Regions from separate parts of the Homo sapiens genome. Here all the other regions are linked to region 1. Evidence: promoter capture Hi-C in 16 types of primary human blood cells and fetal thymus (Javierre and others, 2016). All regions are on one chromosome and are shown on one strand. Each heading gives the region's core, a stretch centred on a gene start or on the middle of the fragment in contact. The rest is flanking DNA. Distances are from core to core; before and after follow the strand shown.

What was found. The method cuts DNA at HindIII sites, captures the fragments that hold promoters and counts their contacts. A CHiCAGO score of 5 or more calls a contact.
Region 2: a contact is called between a fragment that was not itself captured here and the fragment with the promoter of ZBTB14 in region 1, in 1 of 17 cell types (total CD4 T cells). The highest score is 5.6, in total CD4 T cells.
Region 3: a fragment that was not itself captured here is called in contact with the fragment with the promoter of ZBTB14 in region 1 in 1 of 17 cell types (activated CD4 T cells); the score reaches 5.4 in activated CD4 T cells.

The regions. Positions count from the first base shown.
Region 1 is chr18:5,293,081-5,297,771 of GRCh38, forward strand. ZBTB14 (zinc finger and BTB domain containing 14) reads right to left here and starts at 2,646. Exons shown (of 4, transcript NM_001243702.2): 1 at 2,572-2,646; 2 at 892-921; 3 at 164-247. The coding sequence starts at 166. RefSeq lists enhancers at 1,229-1,916, 1,917-2,603, 3,292-3,977, 3,695-3,854 and silencers at 2,045-2,984, 3,065-3,484. The HindIII fragment of the contact is 2,257 bases long and covers 1,792-4,048 here.
Region 2 is chr18:9,115,285-9,119,975 of GRCh38, forward strand. It overlaps NDUFV2 (NADH:ubiquinone oxidoreductase core subunit V2), which reads left to right. Exons shown (of 8, transcript NM_021074.5): 2 at 2,554-2,619; 3 at 4,042-4,104; 4 at 4,190-4,306. Among named protein-coding and RNA genes, the nearest start is that of NDUFV2, 15 kb to the left of the region's middle. The HindIII fragment of the contact is 3,264 bases long and covers 218-3,481 here.
Region 3 is chr18:8,698,956-8,703,646 of GRCh38, forward strand. The region is part of intron 1 of GACAT2 (gastric cancer associated transcript 2); the gene reads right to left. Among named protein-coding and RNA genes, the nearest start is that of MTCL1, 4.3 kb to the right of the region's middle. The HindIII fragment of the contact is 4,632 bases long and covers 1-4,216 here.

The sequences.
Region 1 (4,691 bases), core at 1,396-3,895:
ATTCTCTATGTTTCCTTTTTAAAAACATTGTTTTACTTTTATTCGGCTAATATTTTCCCCCAGACAAATAGAAGTGTTCATGCACAATCAGAATTGGTATATATATTTTAAAGCAAATGCCAAGTCATTTTCATCAAGATTTAATATCCAAAGTTATAGTTACCATGAACAACTCAGGCTATTATCTTAATGCCTTGAACGCCAAAATCTTCAGATCAGAGTAACTCTGATCAGGAGCACGCCAGACCTACAGAGGAAAGGATAAACAAGAATGAGGTAGGATCTTCCTGTATCCCAAATCCTAAACCAAGAATTGATTTTTTAAAAATAAACTTTCTTGTTCCCTCTTTTGTGCATTTTCAGGTTGGGGAGAGTGGCAGGTAGGTAGCTGGTACATCAAGTGCAGTTCTGAACAGATATGGACTAGAACAGATAAGGGCTGTAGCACTCGGGCATAAAGGGGCTGTGCCCTAGGAACTGGAAGGAGGGGTTGGAGAACCATTAAGGGATTTCTCCTCACACACTAAGCTCATGTCCATATTTGTACAGAGATTGATGGCTACACAGATATAGAAAAAAACAAGTGCACCGTGCCCCCTACACCTATCCCATTTCCCGCTGGGTATGTTAGCCCTCTACATTTTTCTCTCGGCTCATACAAACCTATAGAAGTATATACCTTACAAATAAAGCTATAGAAGTACATAAACCCAACAGGTAACATGGGAGGAGAGGGAACAATGATTGCTTTTTCTTTCTGCACCTGTGTGATGTATTAATAGCATACACGTTTGTTTTTAAGATTGTATTTGATAAATCCAGGTGTTTTTACCTCTATCCCTACAATAAGGGTGAAAGAATTTCAGCTTTTTTGTGAGTTTTAACTCTTACCGGAAGAACTCCATCCTGCAGACCCATATCCTGAAAAACAAAAAGTTTCCTCTACTGAACAGTGACCACACAGATAAGTTGTTTGGTGTGGTAGGAGCAAAGGACTGGGCTGTAACAGTCTTACACAAAAACCATGGAACAAGACTCCAACCTGGAGACCAACACCTTGAAACCCATAATAAGCTCCTTCTAAAGAAAAGTGAACACACCGAGCTACCCAGCGTAGAAGCGGGATGTCTCATCTGAAGTTTGAGGTTAGGCAACATTTCCAAAAGATGATTCTGACTTGATCATTCTACGTGTTTCTGCCTCTCTATTCCCTAGAAGCACCCAGGCCTGTAATCATCCAGAGGCTAGGCAGCCCAGCAAAAACCTTACACTGTGACACTTACTACTGTTGTCACTAACTCGTCCTAGGGCTTGTGGGATAAAAGTGCATGGGACCAGAGAGAGGAGTGGCCTTAGACTAGCTATGACAACATATCAATGTGTTGTTGTTGTTTTGGCTAGTGTGTACTTGGCCACTCGCCCCTCTCCCCTCTCTCTCTCAAGATGTATGAGACCTGGAAGAGAGACCATGTGTGTCCAAAGCCGCCTCCTCCCCGCCCCGCCCCCCTTGCCATTGAGATGTCCAATTGCTCAGTTCAGGTGAGTCAAAACTGGAAGACAGCTGTTGCCAGCATCTGTGTAGGCAGGTGTAGGAAAAGACGTAGCCCCAACACCACCTTCATAATAAGGCTGCCCCTTCCTAATTGCTCTCCAAACTGCGGGCGCGCTAAGCCGCGTTACAGTGCAGGGAGCCGGGCTTCCCGCAAAGCCAAAAACTTACATAAGCAGCTGCAGCCGCCTCCCCTGCCCCGGGCAGCCCGACAATGGCGGCTGCACGACTTCCTTGTTGCAAGCTTGCAACTTCGGAGTCGGGAGGAAGCAGGGAGCCAAGCGCAGACCCAAGAAGCCCTCAAGGCGTATCGAGTCCTCCCTCTCAATTTCTTTGGGCCTGGGAGGTGGGGAGTGGAGGAGGCCGTTTGCACTCCTTCCCAGACAAAAGCTCCCAGCCTGGGAGCCAGGTGGTGAAAGGGCCACTTTCCCTTTCATAATCAGACGTCGAGCGCAGGCTTGGGACCGCGGCTCGGAGCGCGCAGGGAGGGACTGCGGCCCGCGGCGGCCCCGGCGGCGCGACGAGCGGGAGCGGGCGTGCGGCCGGCTCCGCAGCCCCGCGCCGCGCCGCGCCCCGCTCCGCCCGCGAGCCCGGAGCTCGCGCCCCGCGCACTCCCCGGCCAGCTCGCGCCGGGCCCTCCCCCGCCCTCCCGCGGCCGGGGGCGGGGGCGGCGCGCGGCCGGCTAACCCAAGCTCCGCGGGCGCACCCGGGAGTGCGTGCGCTGGGTCCCGGCCCCCTCCTCCGCCGGCGGCTGTAGGCGGCGCGGCGGGGCCCGCGGCTCGGAGGGGCGGCGCCCGGCGGGCCGCGCTCCGCGCTGGGTTCGGGCCGTCCCCACCCCCACCGCGGTGCACTGCGGCGGTGCGAGCGGGGGCGGCCATGAACTCGGCCGCCGAGGCTCTGCGAGCGCGCGCGCGGGGCCGCCGCCGCCTGGCCGCTCCCCGAGCCCGCTCGCCGGCCCGCGCGGCCCCCGGGGCGCCCCGGCCCCACGCCCAACCCTGGCCCACGCCCGTCCCCGCTCGCACCGCGCCGCGCCGCTGGCGGCCGCCGCACATCCTGGAGCTGGCTGGTGCCCCAGAGCTCGGCGAGAACGCGCGTCTTCCGGGCCGCCCCGCCAGCCGCCGGCCGCCCCCGCGCCCGCCTTGCGGACGGCCCCAGCCCCTTCCGCACCCTGGCCCGCGCTTACCTGCAGCCTGGCACAGGCACAGACACTGCCGTGGGTTCCCCGCGCTCGCTAGCAAACGCAGGCCGGGACCGGAGGGGCTCGGGGCGCGGGGGCACGGTGGGTGGCAGTGTGTTTTGGATTTTTTTTTGGAGTTTGGGGAGGGGGCGGGGTGGGGGAAATCGTGCACGTCCCTGATGGTAGCAGCCCTCCTCCTGCACGAGCACAGAATGTCTAGCCGGCCGTGAACACCCCCACCGCCCCCCCCTTCCCGTGCATGCGCGGTGCGGGCTGGGGGGAAGGCGCGCCGCCGGCTTGCGCAGGCACGGAACCCGACCGGGTCTCTAAGTGGGCGAGCAAAGAAAGGGTTAATCCGGGCCCTTGCCGACGCTTTCGTTGGAGACTACGGGGCCGCCCCCGGAGGGCCCTGGCCTGCGCACGCGCGCGCACGCGCGCGGCTTGGGGCGCGCGGAGCCCGCGCGCGGGAGAAGGAGTGGGCGGGGCAAGGGCGGGGCTTCGGGAGCCAGGGAACTTAAGCACGAGCGCTGCTCGCGGACACCCGCCCCGCCTCAAGCTCCCTCCCGCCCTGGTTCGTGGGCTTCCGCCCGCGCCCGGCGCCGGCGCAGCGCCGGGGACGCGGGAGCCAGCGCTCCCGTGCGTGTGCATGTGCGTGGGCCAGAGCCTCCCCCGGGCGCGCGCAGGCCGGGCGCTGAGGCTGCGGGGCTCTGCCGCGTCTCGGAGCGGGCGCCCCGGCCACTTTCGCCCTCCGCGCACACCGGCCGACACCGGGAGGCGCGCCCACGGGTCTGCGGTCTTGCCTCTTGCCGCCGGCACATTGAGTTTGTGGGGGAGTGGACGGTGCACAATAAACACTTGCAGAACAAATGGAAAAAGCGACGTCTTCGATTTGTAGTGTAAAGCGCAACCCCAGTTGCCCAGCAGAAAGGGATCACCCATAGGGCTTCGGAGCTAGTAGGTCCGCGCCCGGACACTCCAAGGAAAAGTCCAGGGGCTGGAGGCGGCGACCCGTCTGTGGCAGTCCAGACCCTGGACTCGATTCGGAGAGCTCTGATAACTTGGCTCTGTCCTTAACATCCCTGCTCAGCGCCAGTAATGGCTCCGTTGCTGTTGAACCACGTCGCCTTCCCTCTGACGCGGCGGCTGTGCCTGTGTCTGGCGTCGGGAGCTGGGAAGTCCCTCCCGCTCCCGCGTTTTCTGCTCACCGAGATGCAGGAGGCCGGACAGCAATGCCGCGCCGCCTTAGAGTCGCTCATGTTGCTTTACCTCACACGCGAAGTTTCCCCGAAACGCGTAATTTAATATCTAAAGATTAGAGCAGAAGCTTCCTCTTGGGCTTATTGAAGATGACATAAGATAGTGCTTGCAACAGGCACCTAAGTAAACATTTGGGAAATAATATGATGATTGGATGTGTTAATTTTCTAAAGGAAGTTCTATATGGCCTCAGTTGATTTTGTAATGTTAATTGACTTTGGTTTAACGTTCCCCAAGGCGACTTTATACGCATCTTTTTTGATGTTCACAAAAGCACCCAAGTTACGGCTTATATGGAGGAAATAGGATGGAAGAGACCGGTTGTAGAGTCAGACATATCCAGTTCACATATTGGGTAAATTGTTTAACTTCTCTAAACCTCAGCTGAAGGAGAGCTATGGAAAGCACCTAATAAGGCACTTGTAAGGATTAAGTGAAATAATGCCCAGCTAAGGTATTAGCTCCATGATGGAAAATCACCTGCACCCACAGATAGTGGGTTCCAGTGGCCTGGACAGAACCAGAACCAAGTCTTCTGCCACGAAAGTTCACACTCATCAGACATGATACCGTGTACTCGCTTTATTCTTGTTTGCGTAGCTCTTGAAGTTGCATTTCAATCCTGTGGATGCTGTGTGTTTATAGGGGGATAATAATAGTACTCTGTCATAGGGTTGCGTCACCAAGCAGTAAAGCAGCCACTGCAGT
Region 2 (4,691 bases), core at 600-3,099, 3.8 Mb after region 1:
ATGTAATTGGGATGATAATTTATGCATTTTTGTTTTTTTTGTTTTGTTTAACCCTGATTCCAGTTTCTACATGATTATTTTTACGACATATTTTTGTTAGCTACATAACGTTCTAGTGTCAGAATTATTAGTATTTAGTTAAAACCTGCTCAGATTGGGTTTTTAGGTTGTGTTTTTGCTGCAATAAACATAATAGGAACAACATGTTTTCATGTAAAGCTTTATCCTCATTTTGTACTGCAGGAAAAATACCTAGGTTAGAATTACTAAATTAAAAAATGGACACTTGGGGCCAGGCGCAGTGGCTTACGCCTGTAATTCCACCACTTTGGGGAGCTGAGGCGGGCAGATCACTTGACATCGAGAGTTCAAGACCAGCCTGACCAACATGGAGAAACCCCGTCTCTACTAAAAATACAAAAAATTATCCAGACGTAGTGGCACATGCCTGTAATCTCAGCTACTTGGGAGGCTGAGGTAGGAGAATCGCTTGAACCCGGGAGGCAGAGGTTGTGGTGAGCCGAGATCATGCCATTGAACTCCAGCCTGGGCAACAAGAGCGAAACTCCGTCTCCAAAAAAAAAAAAAGACACTTATTTAGGCTTTCCATATATCATGGTAATTTGCTTTCTAAAAGGCTATATGAATTTTTAAGTGTGCTTGTTTCTCTATATGCTCAACAGAATGGAATGCTATCTTAAAAGAAAAAAGATACTTGGTAGTTTGATAACTAGTAATGTTATTTTAAGTTGTATGTTTTTAGTTACTAGTAAGCAGTTTGAATTCTGTGAAACTTTTGTTCATGATCTTTACTCATTTTTTAAGTGCATTTATGATCTCTTCAGGCTATTAGCCTCTTGTCATCAAATGTGTGTAAGATTTAAGACTCATCACTGTCAAGTTAATGGATGAGTTCTCAGAGGCAAAGGCTTTATAGAGAAAAGAAGATAGGAGTGTGAACTGAGCCCTGAGGACAGCCTGCAAGGAGTGGATAAAAAGCCAATAAACAGAAAATGTTAGTGTTCAGAAATTAGGAGAAGACTGAATACTTTCCCTACTCTTAAAATTAATCCTTTTATTATAAGTATACAGTCTTTTCTCTCAGAATTTAGTTAAGTAACTCACTGATGTTACTCAAAAATTGTTACTCGATTAAAAAAATTTTCTGAGCTAAGATGACAGTGACTGTCTTCTAAATTTTAGTTTCAGTTAATTTTTCAAAACAAAACCAACACAATCAAAGCCCCCTTGTGCACCTCTGACTGTATCCCTCCCTGCCTTCCAATTATCCTGAAATTGATATTTATCACTCCCATCTTTTGTACGTGTGTCTCACATCCTGTACCTTAGTCTTTTCTTGTTAATTAAAGCAGATGTTCCATGTAAACTTATTTATTAATATTTCTTCAACTGAAATATCATTTGGACCTAGGGTAAAGTTAAATATACTATTGTGTTATATTACTCCGTTTACTTTCTTCTATGTTTGCCTTTGAATTGTCCAACTCTTTGCTAGTTCCATGCTTGGTTTAACCCAGCCAGTGTTCTGCCGTCTGTGGTTAGTAGAACTCAGAAATTGGAGGAATCCAGAACAGTAGTTGAAATACTTGGGGGCGGGGGACAGGGTAGGAGTGGAGGGTAGGAGCAAGAGGGCAAAGAGAAATGAAATGCAGCTGAGAGAATAATCAGATTCCTTCCAAAGCAACTGAACATTGTCAGTCCGCATAGCATCATAAATAGCTTTCTGAAACTACTTTTTTTTTTTTTTTTGAGACGGAGCCTTGCTCTGCTGCTCAGGCTGGAGTGCGGTGGCGCGATCTCGGCTCACTGCAACCTCTGCCTCCCAGGTTCAGGCGATTCTCCTGCCTAAGCCTCCCGAGTAGCTGGGACTACCAGCGTGCGCCACCACGCCCAGCTAATTTTTGTGTTCTTAGTAGAGATGGGGTTTTACCATGTTGGCCAGGATGGTCTCGATCTCTTGACCTCGTGATCTCCTTGCCTTAGCCTCCCAAAGTGCTGGGATTACAGGCATGAACCACCACACCCGGCCAGAAACTACTTTTTACGGCTGGAGTTTCAGAACTAATTTAGTAAAGGATTGAAAAGGAAGGAGGATACAGTTGACTCATTTGTACAGAGTATATGACTCATTTGTACAGAATGAAAACATGTTTATGAAGGTTCACACTAAGTGAAAGCTGGCATCCAAGTTGATTCAGACAAAAGTGAAAGTCAAGAAGTTAATAGTACATTAATTCTCCAAATGCATGCCAGCAGAGCGTGGCAGGAAGGTACACAAGTCAGCAGATCTGGGTTGTCCTGGTTCTCCTATTGACTCGTGTGTGTGATGTTAGGTGGGTGAATCTTGGCTTTGAATCTCCATTTGTAAAATAACTCTCCTGAAATAGAGATGGATAGGGTAGAATACCATATTTCTTAAGATCTTTTATAAGTTGATTCCATTGTTGTAAATTATGAATCCTAAAGTATTTCTTTATGAAAAATTTTTTAAGGCTATGATTTACTAAACTTTCTTAAAATTTTAAATTTTAGGGAAGACATGTAAGGAATTTGCATAAGACAGTTATGCAAAATGGAGCTGGAGGAGCTTTATTTGTGGTAAGTAATTACTTAGATTTCTTTGGAAAGAAAAGACTTGGAAATTGGGGTAAATCCATTGTAAAAATCCAAAATATCTTAAATACCATTGTCTTTGATATATGATGGTCATCGTGAGAATTTACATACAGCTAATTGAATTTACTACATTTCAAAAGATGTTGGTTCCAGTTGAACCTCATGAGTTTAAATTAGTATCAGGAAAACTCTGGGAATAAGAATTTATTTCCAGTGAAATTACTGTGTGAGCCCTAACCTGATTCTCATCACACTTTGGGTTCTCAGTCATGTTGGCTTACTGAGAGTTTGGAGATTGTAACTTGTTGAATCCCAAAATGACACTAGTTTGAAACTCATGGATTTTAGTAATGTAGTAACTAGATTAGCAGCTGGTCTTTATATTTTTAGTTTCCGGAGTTTTAACTATAAATAGAAGTCTGTGAACTCCCCAGATTAGTTGCACAATTTGGAAAGGATAAGATATTATATCTCCCTTTTCTGACAAGGTGCTGTTTTCAGGGATTAATCTAGTATAAAGGCAATATAGTGGACTTGTGTGATGATTTAGAGTTAGTGGTGTAAGAAGTAGCTTCCTGCTATATATCAAGCATCAAATTGGCCACATATTTGAGATCATTGTCCAGAGTGTCTGTTTTCTTTCCTCTTTTGGCTTATGTCCTTTAAAAAGCAGAACTCCGAGAGTTAACATATCAAGAGATTCATTTCTGTATTCACCACACATACATAACATTAATTGATCGTAAGTGTTAATCTCAGTGTGACTCATTTGATTTCCTGTTGACATGCCATTTCTTGTCAGTTTTTGAAGAGGGCCTGCTTCTGCTCTTTTAAGAAGAGATAAAGCTTCTTGCTGTTGGCTATTATGGAAAACGTGGGAAAGAGATGGTGCTGTTTTTTTTTTTTTTTTTTTTTTTTTAAGATGGTCCTTTTGTACCCTCCTAAAGTAATGGGTCTTAACCCTTTTGGATCCCAGATCCCTTTGACAATCTGATAACCTTGCTTTTGGGAAAATACACATATGTTCACATTTAAAATTTTGTGTTTTAATTTCATAAAGGCTTCCAATAATTGGTAATGTTTTGGTAATTCTATCAGAAGATCTTACTCTCTAATGAAGCTGGATAACACTTTTTGTTGTTTGGGTTTTTTTGGTCCTAAAGGTACTTCTCTTATTCTTTAAATGGTCCTTTGTAAATTTTTAAATTCTGCTAACTTTACTTTGGTAATCATACTTATCAAATGTGTGTTTAGACATTCTTTTTGATGGAAGGATAGGGTGGTATATATCATGTTGGAATTAAAATGGAGAGATTAAACAATAAGTAATAGTATAGTAATGTACAGTGTCATTCACACTTGAGAGAATTTGGATAAGTCTGAAAAACTGTTTTTGTTGTGTAGCACAGAGATACTCCTGAGAATAACCCTGATACTCCATTTGATTTCACACCAGAAAACTATAAGGTATGGCTAAATTAACATTATAATTAATTTACCAAATAGGTAATATTTTCTAGATGTATAAAATGATGTTCTTTCTTTTATACAGAGGATAGAGGCAATTGTAAAAAACTATCCAGAAGGCCATAAAGCAGCAGCTGTTCTTCCAGTCCTGGATTTAGCCCAAAGGCAGAATGGGTGGTTGCCCATCTCTGCTATGAACAAGGTACTGGATTCATTTTTGCCTTAGTTCTAAAAGAGAAGAGATTGTGTATGATAATTTCCTTTTATAGAAATTACTCTGATCATCTCCAGTGTCAGAATCTAGGATTTTGGAGCCCTTTAGCCATTTGTATGTTTCCTTGAATTGTCTTTGTGTTTTTGTTCATTCCCTTAATGCATAGAGGTGATTTCTAACCTTGCAGGAAATAAGGAAGGCATTATGGTGAAAGAGGGTATGTGTTTTTTTTTTTCCTTTTGAAGGAAATGGTCAAAGATAAAAGATTCCAAATGTGTATAACTTAGTGTCAAGATATTCTGAAAATTAATGTAATATTTAAACACTAGAATTACAGAAAAGAAGATCTGCTCACTAGTATGAAAATTTTTAA
Region 3 (4,691 bases), core at 651-3,150, 3.4 Mb after region 1:
AAACTCCTGACCTCAAATGATCCACTGCCCTCGGCCTCCCAAAGTGCTGGGATTATAGGCGTGAGCCACTGTGCCCAGCCCAGTCTTGATTTCTACTGTGGTTTCATTCCTAAAAAAAAATTCAGTTGATGGTAAAACAACCCTAAAAACATACTGCTTTAGTATACATATATCAAAACAACACGGTGTACTCTGTCAATGTAATTATGATAATTATGATTTGTCAATTAATAGTTATATTAACTTTTAAAAAATATTTTAAAAACTTAAAAAATACTGCTTTATATGTAAAAGTATTGTGTTTATGTGTAAAACATGTACTTCTAGCCTTAGATAATGATAAACAGATTTTTTTACCCACGTGAATGTTTCAGAGGACTCTTACTTGGAAGTCCTGTAGCAGGAGAGATGACTCTTTTTTTTTTTCTTTTTCTGAGATGGAGTCTCACTCCATCACCCAGGCTGGAGTACAGTGGCGAGATCTCAGCTCACTGCAACCTCTGCCTCCTCGGTTCAAGCGACTCTCCCACCTCAGCCTCCCGAGTAGCTGGAATTACGGGCACATGCCACCATGACAGGCTAATTTTTGTATTTTTAGTAGAGACAGGGTTTCATCATGTTGGCCAGGCTGGTCTCAAACTCCTGGACTCAAGTGATCCACCACCTCAGCCACGCAAAGTGCTAGGATTACAAGTGTGAGTCACCTCATCCCGCCTAGGACGACCCTTCTCTGGGCACACTGCAAGATATCTAGCCCCCCTGACTATTCCCCTTCCCTCACTTAAATGCCAGTAGTGCCCTCCAATCCAGTTGTTATGACAAGAGAAAACACCCCAATATACGTCTAGAATGCTCCCTGTGGGTGCTTCCACCCCCATGAAGAACCACTGGTCAGGAGGGAAAGGGCCTCCTTACACCTTCACCTCTCTACTTCCTCTGGTTCTCATGTCACAGGGAGACTCCCCTGTTCTCCCAGCAGACTCTAGAGCACACCTTAGGTTGGGACTCTCTAGTTCAGATTTAAGTGAGCAAATATCCATCACCCAGCATCTCACATGCATAGAGGTGGGTCATCCCGCACAGTATTGGAAGGAGTTTTGAACAGAAATAGGAAGAACGCACATGACAAGCCATGTGACACTTGGACCTGTGTAGAAACACTAACACATGTGTCTGTGGTCTCAGCTACTTGGCAAGCTGAGGTGGGAGGATCACTGGAGCCCAGGATTTGGAGTCTGCAGTGAGCTATGATTGCACACTCTGCTCCAGCCTGGGTGACCAAGCAAAACCTTGTCTTTTTAAAAAAAAAAAAAAAAAAAAAAGAAGGAAGAGAGAAAAAAGAAACACTAACACAGTGTTTTTCAATGGGAAGTAAGATAATTACTTGCATCAAAAGTATTTGTTAAAAATACAGCCTTCCGGCCGGGCGTAGTGGCTCACACCTGTAATCCCAGCACTTTGGGACTCTGAGGCGTGCGGATCATTTGAGGTCAGGAGTTTGAGACCAGCCTGGCCAACATGGCGAAACCCTGTCTCTACTGAAAATACAAAAAATTAGCTGGGCGTGGTGGCGGATACCTGTAATCTCAGCTACTCAGGAGGCTGAGGCAGAAGAGTCGCTTGAGTCCAGGAGGCGGAGGTTGCAGTGAGCCAAGATCGTTCCACTGCACTTTAGCCTGGGCAACAGAACAAGATTCCACCTCAAAATAATAATAATAATAATAATAATAATAATAATAATAATAATACAGCTTTCTGGGCTCATATCTCTTAAATCAGATCCCTGGGGATGTGGCCAGATAATTTGCATTTTTAACAGTCTCACCAGGAGATTTTAATGACCTCAAGGTTTAAGAGCCTCTTAAGTTATTGTCATTGTCACCACCAATGCCATGCACAGCTGCCAATCTGGACATGAAGCCTTTTTCAGGTCCCATGTGGCATTTTGGCAATCACCCTTGCAAAGAGAGCTGGGAGGTCCCCACAGACCCCAGTGTTGGATGCAGACTCCAGCTTCAACCTTGGCGGGTGGTGGGGAGGCGGGGGGATCAGGCATTATTAGGTTGTCTCTTTTTAAGGTTAACTTTCTTGCAGTGCCCAAAAAGCCACTCACTCTGAAAAATTCCCTCTTCTTTCCATTCTTTTCAAAGAGTATGATTTCATGATTTCTCATGACTTCAACCAGGAATGCTTTCATATTTTAAATGTGCCTTTCTGTTAAAATAAGGGGAAAAACTGGAAGATACACATATGCCTGGGTTTGGACAATGTATTAAAGGTATAGAAATTCTGCATATAATTCTGCCTGGGAGTATAGAGTGAAGTATAGTCCTGAGTAAGTCACATTTTTTTTTTTGTCTATGAGTCAAACCAAGTAAAAAAAGAATTCATTTCTCTTTATATAACTGTATAGACACAGAATAGATTTCTAACTCTCTGAGTGAGAGTTTGGAATCTGAGTGAAAAATCTGGTTTGCTCATATTTTAAGAGTTTTGAAGATTATTTCACTGGTGTTAAATAATGATGATGATTCTGAAGATTATTTCACTGGTGTTAAATGATGATGATGACTTGATAACAATACCTTACCCAAGGCCACACAGACAGCAAATGACTTGGGCAGGATTTGAACCCAGATTTACCTGGTGTCAAAGCCTCAGGTCTTGTCACCATACCACACCGTTCTTGGACAAAGAGGTTGTGAACACAGCCACACAAACATTACTCATCACACCACTGCTGCACGCAGCTCCCTAGGACAGTATTTGGGCCTCTGCAGAGGAATGAGACGATGGGGCCCTGGGCCTTGTGCCAGCATTTACAATCCAGGGTTGCAATGCAGGGAATCAGCCACAGTGAAGCAACCCGGAGATCTGCAAGCACAGGAAGGCACCACCACCCTTGATACGAGGCAGTGGAGGACGAAAAGCTACCAGGAGGAGTAGTCCATCCAGTGATGGCTGGAACCTCAGAAATCCACTCCTCACAGAGACCCAGCCACTGCCAGAGAAGCCGCCTGCAGCAGAGAGAGTAAGAAATAACCTGGTTTCTTCCTTCTGGGTCCACTCCCATCTCCTGACGGCACCTCCACTGGCCAAACCCAATCAGCAAACCCAGCGGCCTGGAAACCCACACTTCCACTCACATCAGAGTAGCAGAGGGGCAAGACTGGATCTGAGGGCACGCAGATGAAAACAGGCACGCCCATGCTGGGTTTTGTTATTTCACAGAATAAGCACTCTATGGTTCCCTTAAATAGTAAATCCTCTATTACCTTTAGATTAATTTGATTTAACAGAAAAAGAATTTAAAATCAAGTATTTCCTTTCTTTGCTCCCTCCTTCCCTTCCTCCCTTCCCTTCCCTTCTTTCCCTCCCTCCCTCCCTGCCTCCTTCCCTCCCTTCCTTCCTTCCCATTTTTTTGAGACAGGGTTTCACTCCCATCACCCAGGCTGGAGTGCAGTGGCATGATCATGGCTCACTGCAACCTCCCCTCCTGGGCTTGAGGGAGCCTCCTGCCTCAGCCTCTCAAGTAGCTGGAACTACAGGTGTATGCCACCATGCCCAGCTTATTTTTGTATTTTTGTGTTTTTTTGGTAGAGACAGGATTTTGCCATGTTGCCCAGGCTGATCTCCAACTCCTGAGCTCAAGCTATCTGCCCACCTTGGCCTCCCAAAATGCTGGGATTACAGGCGTGAGCCACCACGCCTGGACCACTTTTTCTTTTTCTTTTCTTTTCTTTTTTTTTTTGAGTGACTTTAAAAAACATCTATTATGCAATCAGATATCTCTTTATACCTGTAACTCACTGAATACTGGAAAACAAAGAAGGCATTATTGGCTGGGCTGGGTGGTGCATGCCTGTAGTCCCAGCTACTTGGGAGGCTGAGGTGGGAAGATGGCTTAAGCCCAGGAAGTTTGACTTCAGTCTGGGCAACATAGCAAGACCCCATCTCTTAAAAAAAAAAAGGAAGAAAAAAGAAAAAAAAAGAGAAAGCATTGATTGAATACTTCCTTACAAAGGGCTAGTAGTCTCATTTGCCAGGCTAATAATAAGTAGTAAGGAGGATGAATTTTATCTGACTTATTACCTGAAAGAAAGAGAAGCTGGCTGCAAATCCTATAGTCATCAAGCTACTGTCTTTAGAAGACTAGCGTATTGAAACTTTTTTGGGGGGCCCTTTCTTTGAGTGTATATGGTATGAGAAGCTGGCAAGCTTGTGCTGAGAGTCCTGGCCATAATTCTTCGGAAATGTGAGGGTGTGGGAGGCTTCAGAGCCTCTGGAGGAAGTTCTAGGCAGAGGTCAGTTGTGCTCTGGCCCGACCGCGGGCCCCCTCCCACGGAAGGGCAGAGCTAGAGGGCCCTCTGGGGACAGCAGGCCCGGCGCGAGCGGTGGCCAACACCTCTCAAGCCTTTCGAGGTGTGCCGTCATCCACGCCCACCGTGGAGCCAACAGTGTCCTTCTCCCAACGCTGGAGAAACGGCTAGGGCATTAGCCTCAAAGGAGATTAAGGAATTGGATTTCGTAGAGATTGGATTTCGTGCGTGCTGTCTCCCATTCAGAGGCATTCCCAGAAAAACGACTCACAAAGACCACAACAGCAGCAGAGCAGGCGAGGTCTCAGTGCCCCCAGAGCTCAGCCAGGGCGAGGCAGGACGACTTCGGGGCAGGGCTCTCCTGACGTAGGG